Linked DNA regions of Homo sapiens: region 2 is linked to region 1. The links are contacts of gene promoters, found by promoter capture Hi-C in blood cells and fetal thymus (Javierre and others, 2016). All regions are on one chromosome and are shown on one strand. The core of a region is centred on a gene start or on the middle of the fragment in contact, and the rest is flanking DNA. Distances in the headings are between cores, read along the strand shown. Region 1 holds the start of B3GNT5 (UDP-GlcNAc:betaGal beta-1,3-N-acetylglucosaminyltransferase 5). Region 2 overlaps YEATS2 (YEATS domain containing 2).

What was found. The method cuts DNA at HindIII sites, captures the fragments that hold promoters and counts their contacts. A CHiCAGO score of 5 or more calls a contact.
Region 2: a fragment that was not itself captured here is called in contact with the fragment with the promoter of B3GNT5 in region 1 in 1 of 17 cell types (M2 macrophages); the score reaches 5.1 in M2 macrophages.

The regions. Positions count from the first base shown.
Region 1 is chr3:183,251,513-183,256,900 of GRCh38, forward strand. It overlaps B3GNT5 (UDP-GlcNAc:betaGal beta-1,3-N-acetylglucosaminyltransferase 5), which reads left to right and starts at 1,741. Exons shown (of 2, transcript NM_032047.5): 1 at 1,741-1,960. All of the region lies in intron 15 of MCF2L2 (MCF.2 cell line derived transforming sequence-like 2), which reads right to left. It overlaps LOC124906310 (a long non-coding RNA gene), which reads left to right. Exons shown (of 3, transcript XR_007096189.1): 3 at 1,023-1,043. The HindIII fragment of the contact is 12,746 bases long and covers 1,219-5,388 here.
Region 2 is chr3:183,777,143-183,782,329 of GRCh38, forward strand. YEATS2 (YEATS domain containing 2) reads left to right here. Exons shown (of 31, transcript NM_018023.5): 19 at 400-558. Among named protein-coding and RNA genes, the nearest start is that of YEATS2-AS1, 31 kb to the right of the region's middle. The HindIII fragment of the contact is 1,591 bases long and covers 1,611-3,201 here.

The DNA.
Region 1 (5,388 bases), core at 491-2,990:
TGGTCATTCCAAAGTCATGTATAGATCTAATCACAGGGCTCTCTGCTTACCAGCTGCTACTTGGATAAGGAAAGCATGCCAACACGGTCCTCCTTCTTCATGCTGGCCAAGTCAGCATCATTATTATTACCTAAGTTTATTTCTAACACATCTCAATATCTTCATGCACTCCCTCTTGATAAAAGTAACTGAGCATAGCACCATCAATACCATCAAATCTGTCATTCTCTTCCCCTCTCTCTGGGTGGGACAGGAAGCCAGGCTGCTCTAGGAAATCTTCCCTAACAAGCAAAGGGGACTTGCCTGTCCTCTCGCATGTGTGATCTGAGCTTGTGTGGATCCCAGAGTGGGCATTCTGGACTACTTGACCTTGCCTATCTCTCCTTCACACCCTCTCATCTCTCCCTCCTACCACCAAAAAACTTGCATCGTATTTCCAATCTCCAGACATACTTTTGAAACCATTTATCTATCTGGTGTGTTTATCTGTATCTAGTATGATGTGAATATGTGATTTGTATGTGTGTCTACCACTGTTTTGGTCAGTTTGTATTTCTCGTGGGTACAGTTCTATGTGCTCATGTATGTGGAACATATGTATACTGACACATGGACCTAGCTCCAAATGATCTGAAAGGAATATAATTGTAATTGAATATTTGCACAGATATACAACATACACATGTGATGGCTGGGGGAAATGCATGTGGGATTTCAGTCAGCATTTTATTAGAGAAGGTATGTCATTAGTGCTGTATTAACAATGAATCAGCTTATTTGTGGGTCACTGTCAATGACTCCTTTGCAAATCACACATGTAAATATTTCTGTCTGTGGTCTGATGAACATGCAGTGCCACAGTCTGGGAGATGCTGAGCCATGCCCTGTGTAGGCAGCATATGAAAAGAACTGCATGATTTAAAAGATGCTGACCAGCTTAAGGAAAGCAATTTAAAAACTTCCTAAAAATCTAGTTTGAATGAACAACAGTTTTCATTTTGTGTGTGTGTTTTTTCTTTTAGAGATGGGGTCTTGCTATGTTGGCCACGCTGGTCTCTAACTCCTGGGATCAAGCAATCCTCCTGCGGCTCAGCCTCCCAAAGTGATGGGATTACAGGTGTGAGCCACCGTGTCTGCTGGCCCCACTGTTTTAAACCCTGATTCGACAATCATACATTTAACTCATTACCTGTCTTGTTCCTTTTACGACAAACTCAAAGCTTTTATTTTACTAAAGTATTTGGGTTAATCTTTTGCTTTTCTGTCATGTTCTGAAATATGTACAATAACAGAATCGCTCAAAATATTATCTCCGTTAAATGTTTTGTGGCTTTAGGGAGAGGTCTAACAACATGCGGGAAACAAGAAATCAAGCGCATCCAGGATTCATTTATAATCTCTCTCGTTGAGTAGAAGTCCGCATCTCTCGATATTGTCTGGTTACCTGCATGAAGTATTCTAAAGGAGGAAAATAGCTCAAAGAGGACATTCATGTGCACTCTGGCTTCCAGTTGGCCATTTGAGTAAGTGATCGCAATTAACTGACGAGCGGCAGGGAAACACTTCCTGGAATTCTCATCTACAGACAAGAACAAACTGGGGCGGGGCCCATCACCTTCACCTACGCGCCGGGAGGGTGGCGGCTGGCGGGCGGGGCCGGGCTCGGGCCGTGACGCCGAGAGTGCGGGGCGCGCGGCTGGGAGCCTCGCGCCCCCGCCCGGGCCCGCCCCCATCCCGCCCGCATACAGCCCGCATCCCGCCGGGGAAGCGAGCCCAGTCCAGCGCTGCCCGTCCAGTCCTCGCCCAAGATTTAAAGCCCGCAAGTTTTGTTCTTGAGACCAGCGACTTTAGCTCCGATGCGGGAAGGAAAGCCGACCTCCGATTTGGACATTTAAAGAGCTGGGCTTGAACTTCGTGAGTTTCGCTCTAAACTGCCCTTGAAATGAAGCTGGACTTGGAGGTAAAGTCACTGGGAAGCTGGCCTGGGGCGGGGTTTCCCCCTCTTCTCGTATTTTAGAAACGGACAGCGGCAGTGCAGCCCTAGTTTGCTGTAAGTTTCCTTACTTTGTTACTGAGGCCCCCAGAGCTCCACGCATAAGTGGTGTGACCAGAAACCTTTTAACAAGACCCGCCTGAGCCTGCGTTAGAGCTCCCGCTCGGAAAGTAAAAGACCATCCTAATCCGCGGCGCTGCGGAACCGGTGTCCCGTGTGGGAGGAACCGCGGCGTTCCCTGGGCGTAGGGCCCGCGAGGCCAGCACAGTCCGCCTCTTGGCGGAGCGCCCTGGGCCGGTGGTTCCGCGCGGAGTTAGTCTGTGGTCAGTTACGTGGTGAAAACACGGCTGTGCCGCGGCCGCATCTTTCCGCGGCCGAGGCCTCTCTGGGTGGGAGTGTTGGCTTCCTTTCCGGATCGCTAAATGGGGAAAGTTCTGGCCGCTCGGCGGGATACGTCTCCAGGCCACGGATGGTTCGTTCTCCGTGCCGCGGCCCCGAGCTGGGCTCCCTGGGTCTCCAGCGCGGGCTCCCGGCATTGGGGGCTGCGGGCCGGCCCCTCCGCCCCGCCCCCGCCCCGCCGCGCCTCCTCGGCCGAGCGGCTCGCGGTCTCCGGCGCGGGAGGCTCCGAGTCTGCCCACTCCGGGCCGAGCGAGGTCTCTGGAGGAGAAGAGTGGCGAGGAGGTGAGGGCACGCCGGCCCTCGCCCGGCGGGTGGCGCCAGGACTTCAGGTGGGAACGCGCGCTTGGGCCGGGGGCGCGTGGCTGGCGTGGACACCGGATCGGGGCCCGCCGCCCTGGCCCGGACCGCGCACGGCCCAGCGCCGGGAAGTCGGGAAGCCGGGGAGGCCTCTCCCACCGCGGGCCCCGGCAGCCCGCCCTCTGAAAGCGCGGCGGAGAAGGAGGCTCGTCCCCTCCCCGGAACGCCTTTGTTCCCTCCGGCCTGCCCGCGCGGGTGGCCAGCGGCTGGGACCCAGGCCGGGCCGCCGCCCAGGTGCGGCAGGTAGGCTCGGGGGCCGGGCAGCTCCGGTTGGGGCGGCTTCCCGGGGCCTGCGGGTCCCCGTCCCTGAGGAGCTCCGGCTCCTCGGTGGCGGGACAGGCCCGTGCGCGGGAGCCGCGAGGCGAACGCCGCGCCCACCAATTCGGTTGCCGGCCGGGGGCCCCAGGCTTGCGGCCACCCGCCTCCGGCTGGAGGGCTGAATTCGAGTCGAAAGCCCGTGTCGGGCTGGAAAGAAGAAACCGCCAACCTGAGAACGCTTTCGGCGAGTTACTGGCGGGGGAAATGGGGACAGGGAAGTGGGCAGGCGGGGAGACTGCAGCCGCAGATCTCCCTGGCGGGGAGGTCGTGGCCACTCTTTCCTTTGACTCTGCCTCATTTCATTTTGAATCCTGATGTGACAGAGGCAATTGCTTGCTTGGATACCATATAGGTAAAAGTAACAGTTTTCAACTCGACTCTTGACTACACCCTGTACATTCTTGGCCGGTGTTGGTTTTCTTAGGTTATGGATCATGTTAAAGGTACACCGATGTGGTAACCGCACAGTGGCCGATGGTGGCCTGAGGCTCATATTTATGGTAATTATCTGATGAAAGTACATCCATCAGAATTGGATTTGTGCGTCTGTGCCTTTATTTTGGGAAACCTTGCCTGTTCCCTGTGGGGGATGGGAGAGGAATGTGAAAAGCCGAAGTTGACCCAGAAAAGGATGATTGAAGGTAGTTGTATTAAGTGGTGGCACCGAAATGATTCCACCCTGAACTTTCTGAAAGGGTGATTAGTGATCAGCAGCAGACGTTATAACTTTCTCAAAATAAATTTATGGTAGATTTTCTATCTGGTCACAAGTGAGGAGGTGAAAGCTGCTTTTTGGGGCCAACTCTTTGCTTTTAAAGCAAGCTAAACGCAATACCAGAAAGGTTTCCATTCTGTACTTAACCTGCTTGTCCTTCTCACTCTTCCTTATCCTCCCGCACACGCTCTGAGCATTGACTGAGCACTCTGAGGAGGAGGCTGACTCAGGCTGACCCTTCCCGGCCCTGCAAGGCTCTAAGGTAGAACCAGTGTTATCACAGGAAAGGCCCAAGCCAAAGCTCAGAGCAGCTGTTCCTGAGAAAGTGGGAGATGAGGATGAGTAGGAGGTAGAGATGCTTATAACTGCTCTGCCCAGAGAAAACTCAGAAGGTGCAGAAGAGTTTTCAAAATAAAGTGCAGGCCCCATCAAGTAAAAAATGAAACATTGTATTTCATTAAAATGGTGATCAGTTTTCTCTTTTCATAAAAGACATTCAAATGGTGAGATTGTAAAAAAAAAAAAAAAGAAAAAGAAAACTTTCTAATTCTCAAAAATAGAACAGCTTGAATAATAACTCATGGGTTTTGAAATGGGTCATCTTTTAAAATGGGTCACTTTGGCTAGAATCATTGCACTTGGTGACTTTCACATTGTAAAGGGTCCAGTTCTTTCTGAGGCCCAATTGCACTAGAATCTGCATTTCAGAACACAGGAGGTATCAGGAAGAAACTGGGAGAAATTCAGAGGGAAATTGTCTCTTCTCAGAGTAACAAAATGTCCCCTATTCAGGGGGAATTTTATATATGCTGAAGTAAATAGATCTCAGCTTTGAATTTTTATAATACATTATGCCTTTTCTGAAATATTTCCATAGCCATTATTTTAATGCATTGTTAGAATAACCTTGTAAGGAGAGGAATTCATTGTATCTGTGTTCCAGAAACTGAGGCACAGTAAATTACAAGAGCTCTGCCCTTTGATATCGAATCTCTGTGAGCGAAGATGTAACCAGAACAGTGTAAATCTAGAATTACTTTCCTTACGGTATGCAATATCTAATTATTATGTATTAGTTTACATATATATAGGGGATGTAAGAATCTTTATATTTAAAGGATAAGAAACTTGATCAGGTGAGATACAAGATTTGAATAAAAAAGCGATTTTTTAGAAACATTTTAATTCTACAAATTCAGTTGCTGGCTTTGATATGTAACTTATTCAGATTTCTCTTCCATAGAAGGCTTTAACACTAGAAGCCAGTTCTCTACAAAAGAGAATGTTCTACCAAGTGTGTAGGCAACAAAGCCCAAAAGTTCAAGTTCAAAATACTGTTCTACAGCCTAAGATCCACCTAATATTTCAGATTTGACTCTTTTGCTCCTTTCCTATAACTTCCTATAACTTTTTCATAGTGCTCTAAGCAAAGTAAGTTCAAGGATGGACTCACCTCAAGTTTCCTTCTCTTACTTTAGAGGACCATATAATCTTATACCTGTGTCATCCTAATTGAAATGTATTTTAAGTGCTTGTGGGAACAAGAATAACGGAAGACCGTTATTCCATTAATGGAATAATGGGGAACATGAGAAGGACCATATTC
Region 2 (5,187 bases), core at 1,156-3,655, 530 kb after region 1:
TTTGATTAGGAACAGGTTTCCTCCTCGTCTCCTCTTGTCACTGAAGTCTTGGCTCTTTTTGAAGGAAAGTAATAGAATTTTGGTTCCAGATGTTCTTATTGAGAAAGATGATATCAGTCTGAATGATTAAATCCAGTTTTGAGGACTAAGTTGCAAAACATGAGTTTTCAACAGGCTGCTCTGTAACTACAGTGCAAAGTTTGAGAAGTGGGGATAACTAATGGAAGTAACACTTAGAGCACAACTATTCTTTTGAATTATTTTGCCTACATTGCAGAATTAAAGGGGAGAGCGTTGTAGCTTGTAACATGGGACGTTACATGTGATTTAAGGGATCAGAACAGCCCATCTGAATTTAACAAATTACCGATTAGTTCTTTATATTTTTTTCTAACTTAGGGCACATTTTTAGTTGGCCAGCCATCACCCCAGACTTCTGGAAAACAACTCACCACTGGGTCAGTGGTCCAAGGAACACTGGGAGTCAGCACATCTTCTGCACAAGGACAACAAACGCTAAAAGTCATCTCTGGACAGAAAACCACATTGTTTACACAGGTAAATACGCCCATGCACACACCCCAAATATGGGGTGATTATGGCATTTATTTACATATTTACATGTAGTTTCTCTCTTTTCACAAAGAAATTAAGGTTACATAAGAAAATGAACAATAAGGCCAGGAGTGGTCGCTCACGTCTGTAATCCCAGCACTTTGGGAAGCCAAGGTGGGTGGATTGCCTGAGGTCAGGAGTTGGAGACCAGCCTGGCCAACATGGCCAACATAGTGAAACCCCGTCTCTACTAAAAATACAAAAATTAGCCAGGTGCAGTGGTGCGTGCCTATAGTCCCAGCTACTCGGGAGGCTAAGGCAGGAGAATCGCTTGGACCCGGGAGGCGGAGGTTGCAGTGAGCCGAGATCGTGCCATTGCACTCCATCCTGGGCGACAGAGCAAGATTCTGTCTCAAAAAAAAAAAAAAAAAGAAAAAAAAAGAAAAAATGAACAATAAAAAATATAGAAAAACAAAAATGAATCTTGAGGTTTGGGAAAATATAAGTAGAATGAGAAAATTAAGGACCCAGGTGTTATTCTCATATGCAAACACTTAAGATATCTTGCACAGTTAAAAAAATCAAGGTATAAATGTGATAGCAAAGACAAAATGAGAAGCATGGTCAGTTTTAAAGTCACACTATTTGTGAGAAAGAAAAAAACGCATATTTCTTTAGAAGAAACAAAGCTTTCTTGACACTTTGTTGTAAAATTTCTCCAGAGGGGCTTCACGTGGAAGATCCAGAATGGGCCAGTTTCAGCTATAGTATCCAGACAGTGAGTGAGTAGCTGGGATTACAGGCATGCACCACCATGCCCAGCTAATTTTGTGTTTTTAGTAGAGATGGGGTTTCTCCATGTTGGTCAGGCTGGTCTCCAGCTCGTGACCTCAGGTGATCTGCCCGCCTCGGCCTCCGAAAGTGCTGGGATTACAGGCGTGATCCGCTCCTGGCCTTGTTTAGAGTTTTTGCAAGTGATACTGGTCAGTAGTTTTCTTAGTAATTTCTGTCTGGTTTGGTATCAGGATAATACTGGCCTCATAAAATGAAGTGGAAGCTTTTCCTTTCTTTTCTCTTTATTGGAAGAGTTTATATAGAATTGGTACTGTTTCTTAACTGTTTAATTGAATATACCTGTAAAAGCCATATTAGCCTGGAGTTTTCCTAATTGAGAAGGTTTTTATATTACTGTTTTAAACTACAGTTTCAGTTTATTTACTAGATACGGGACTGTTCAGGTTGTTTATTTCTTTTCTTTTTATATATATTTTTTGAGACAGAGTCTTTATCTGTTGCCCAGGCTCCTGGGTTCAAGCAGTTCGCCTGCCTCATCCTCACGAGTAGCTGCGATTACAGGAGTCCACCACCACGCCCAGCTAATTTTTGTATTTTTAATAGAGACAGGGTTTCACCATGTTGGTCAGGCTGGTCTCGAACTCCTGACCTCGTGGTCTGCCCGCCTCGGCCTCCGAAAGTTCTGGGATTACAGGCACAAGCCACCACGCCCAGCCCGTTTTCATTCTTGCTTTTGGTAATTATGTGTCCTCTTTTTATTGATCAGTCTAGCTAGAGGTTTATCAGTTGTATTGATCTTTTCAAATTACCAGCATTTGGTGTCCTCTTTTGTTCTTTTTTGTCGAATGTCCTTACCCATGTTAAACAGATACAAGGCCCTGCAGTTCACTGTAGACAGTTCTTTTAAATCTTCCTTAGATTTCACACCTGCTTGTGTTGCAGCAGTGCACAGGTGAGACAGTTCCTGTTGCCCCTCCCTCCTTGCAGGGACTGGCTATCTTTAATCTTCAGGTTACTTGGCTACTTTGAGATTTCAGCCCTCCAATATGTTTCAAAAAAATAAGATTTTGTAGTGTATTCAGCCTTTTCTTGTTAGGGTAGGAGCAACCGTGCTTTATAGCCCTCTGTTTCCTATGTGGAAGCAAAAGTCCCTGACCAACGGATTTTAACTTGACAGAGAAAACTTTATTTTTATTTATTTATTTATTTTTTATATATTTTTTTGAGACACAGCCTTGCTCTGTCGCCAGGCTGGAGTGCAGTGGCACGATCTCGGCTCACTGCAGCCTCCGCCTCCTGGGTTCAAGCAATTCTCCTGCCTCAGCCTCCCGAGTAGCTGGGATTACAGGTGCCCGCCACCATGTCCAGCTAATTTTTGTATTTTTACTAGAGACGGGGTTTCACCACGTTGGTCAGGATGGTCTCGATCTCTTGACCTCGTGATCTGCCCGCCTCGGCCTCCCAATGAACTGAGATTACAGGCGTGAGCCACCGCACCTGGCCTTTACTTTTTTTTTTTTTTTTTTTAATTTTTTATCTTTCTGACTCAAGATCTAACAGAGAAAACTTTAAATTGCTGTGGTTTCAGATTGCATAATACAACTAAACTTGAAGAAACTTCCACTTGTTGAGCTTTAGTGTAGCATCAGAGAAGAGTAACAACAGTATTTGAAAGAGCTGTTAAAATACTCTTCCCTTTTCCAACTACATATGTGGATATATCTCACACCAACACAGCAAGCACCACAGGAAGGAGGAAGCGGGGGCGCAGGGCATGGAGAACACTGGAAACTGAATAGAACTGGCTGCTCTTGCCACAGTACCCAACACATCACCCTTCTGGTTGCCTCAAGCTTCTGCTATCTCCAGATGTGGAGCTTATCTAGCGTTTTTCCACGCTTCTGTGGCAGATTCTCCTGGCGTGTCCCACGTAAGGCTTTTATCACTTGGCGAGGCTTTCTTCTGCAGCCTTTTGTCTGTTTTTCGTAGTTGCTTGTCCACTATTGGGCTCCTCAACTAGTTTTTGAACACAACCAGTAGAATGCATTTATTTATTTATGCCTTTTCTGGTTTTTTTGGATTTGGCGCTGAGAGGAGTATTGCTGTCCACAATGAAGATAAAATGGCACAAATGTTTATGCAGTGAACTCTGGCAGCAAAATACATAAAGTGCAAAGACTATTAGGAATATGAGGAGAATTTGATAAAACTGCAGTCACAGAGAAGAATTTTAACATGTCTCTCAGCATTTAGCTAATCAAGTGGATAAATCTTTTTTATTATAAAGGATTTGTATTGGAATAACAGTACTAACAGGCTTAATTCTGTATCATTGAGACACAGAATACACATTTTGCTTGTATATCTGTGGAACATTAACAAATTGATTATATACTTGGCCACAAAGAGAATCTCTTAGCATATTTCAAAAGTAGCATCCAATGTGCTTCATTCTGTTACTCAATAAAAAAGTCAAATCAATAACAACCAAAAAACTTGACAATTAAAATACTCTTCTAAATTCTTGGGTTAAAAAAATCCAAATAAATTACGGATGATTTAGCTGTTAATACAAATGACAATTTTATTAGGGTTCTCCAGAGAAACAGAACAAATATAATATATATAGATATTAAGAGGAAATTTATTATGAGAATTGGCTCCTGTGATTATGGAGACCAAGGAGTCCCACGACATGCTGTTAGCAGGCTGGAGATCAGGAAAGCTAGTGGTGTGATTCAGTCTGACTACAAAGGCCTGCGAACTGGTGGGCATGGGAGTGAGGGGCACACTGGCATTAAGTCCTGGAGTCTGAAGGCCTGAGAACCAGGAGCTCTGATGTCTAAGGGTAGGAGAAGATTGATGTCTCAGCTTAAGAAGAGAGAGAGAATTCGCCCATTGTCCGCCTTTTTGTTCTATTCAGGTCCTTGACAGATTGGATGATGTCTGCCCACGTTGGCGAGGGCGGATCTTCTTTACTCTGTCTGCTAATCCAAATGCTGGTCTCTTGCAGAAATATTTTACCAGGTATCTGGGCATCCCTCAGCCCACTCAAGTTGACATAAAATTAACCATCACAACAGTACTTGATATTAAAACCTATGGAAACAACCCAAACCAGGCTCAAGAAAATTCAAAGCTTTAAATGCTTTTTCCTTTTAGCCCCACATCCTTAAAGATATAATAAAATAATGCATAGATCATAAGCGTAGATCTCCAGCCTGGCGACAGAACAAGACTCCGTCTCAAAAAAAAAGAAACTACCTGGGCCATGGTGGCACATGCCTGTGGTCCCAGCCATTCAGGAGGCTGAGGTGGGAGGATGGCTTGAGCCTTTGAAGTTGAGGCTACAGTGAGCCATGATGGTGCCACTGCTCTCCAGCCTGGGCGATAGAGCAACACCCTGTCTTAAAAAAAAAAAAATTTTTTTTTTCTATCACCATTTTTCTGTTTCTTTCACCATAGATTAGCTTTTGTCTTTCTTGAACTTCATGTCAGTGGAATTATATAGTATGTAGTCTTTTATGTCTGGCTTCTGTTATTCAACGTAATGTTTCCAAGATTTATCTATATGTGTGTTAATCGTTTATTCTTTTTTATTCTTGAGTTAATTTTTTAATTTTTTAATTTTTTTGAGACAGAGTTTCGCTCTTGTTGCCCAGGCTGGAGTGCAGTGGTGCGATCTTGGCTCACTGCAACCTCTGCCTCCCGGGTTCAAGCGATTCTCCTGCCTCAGCCTCCCGAGTAGCTGGGATTACAGGCATTCGCCACCAAGCCTGGCTAATTTTGTATTTTTAGTAGAGACGAGGTTTCTCTATGTTGGTCAGGCTGGTCTCG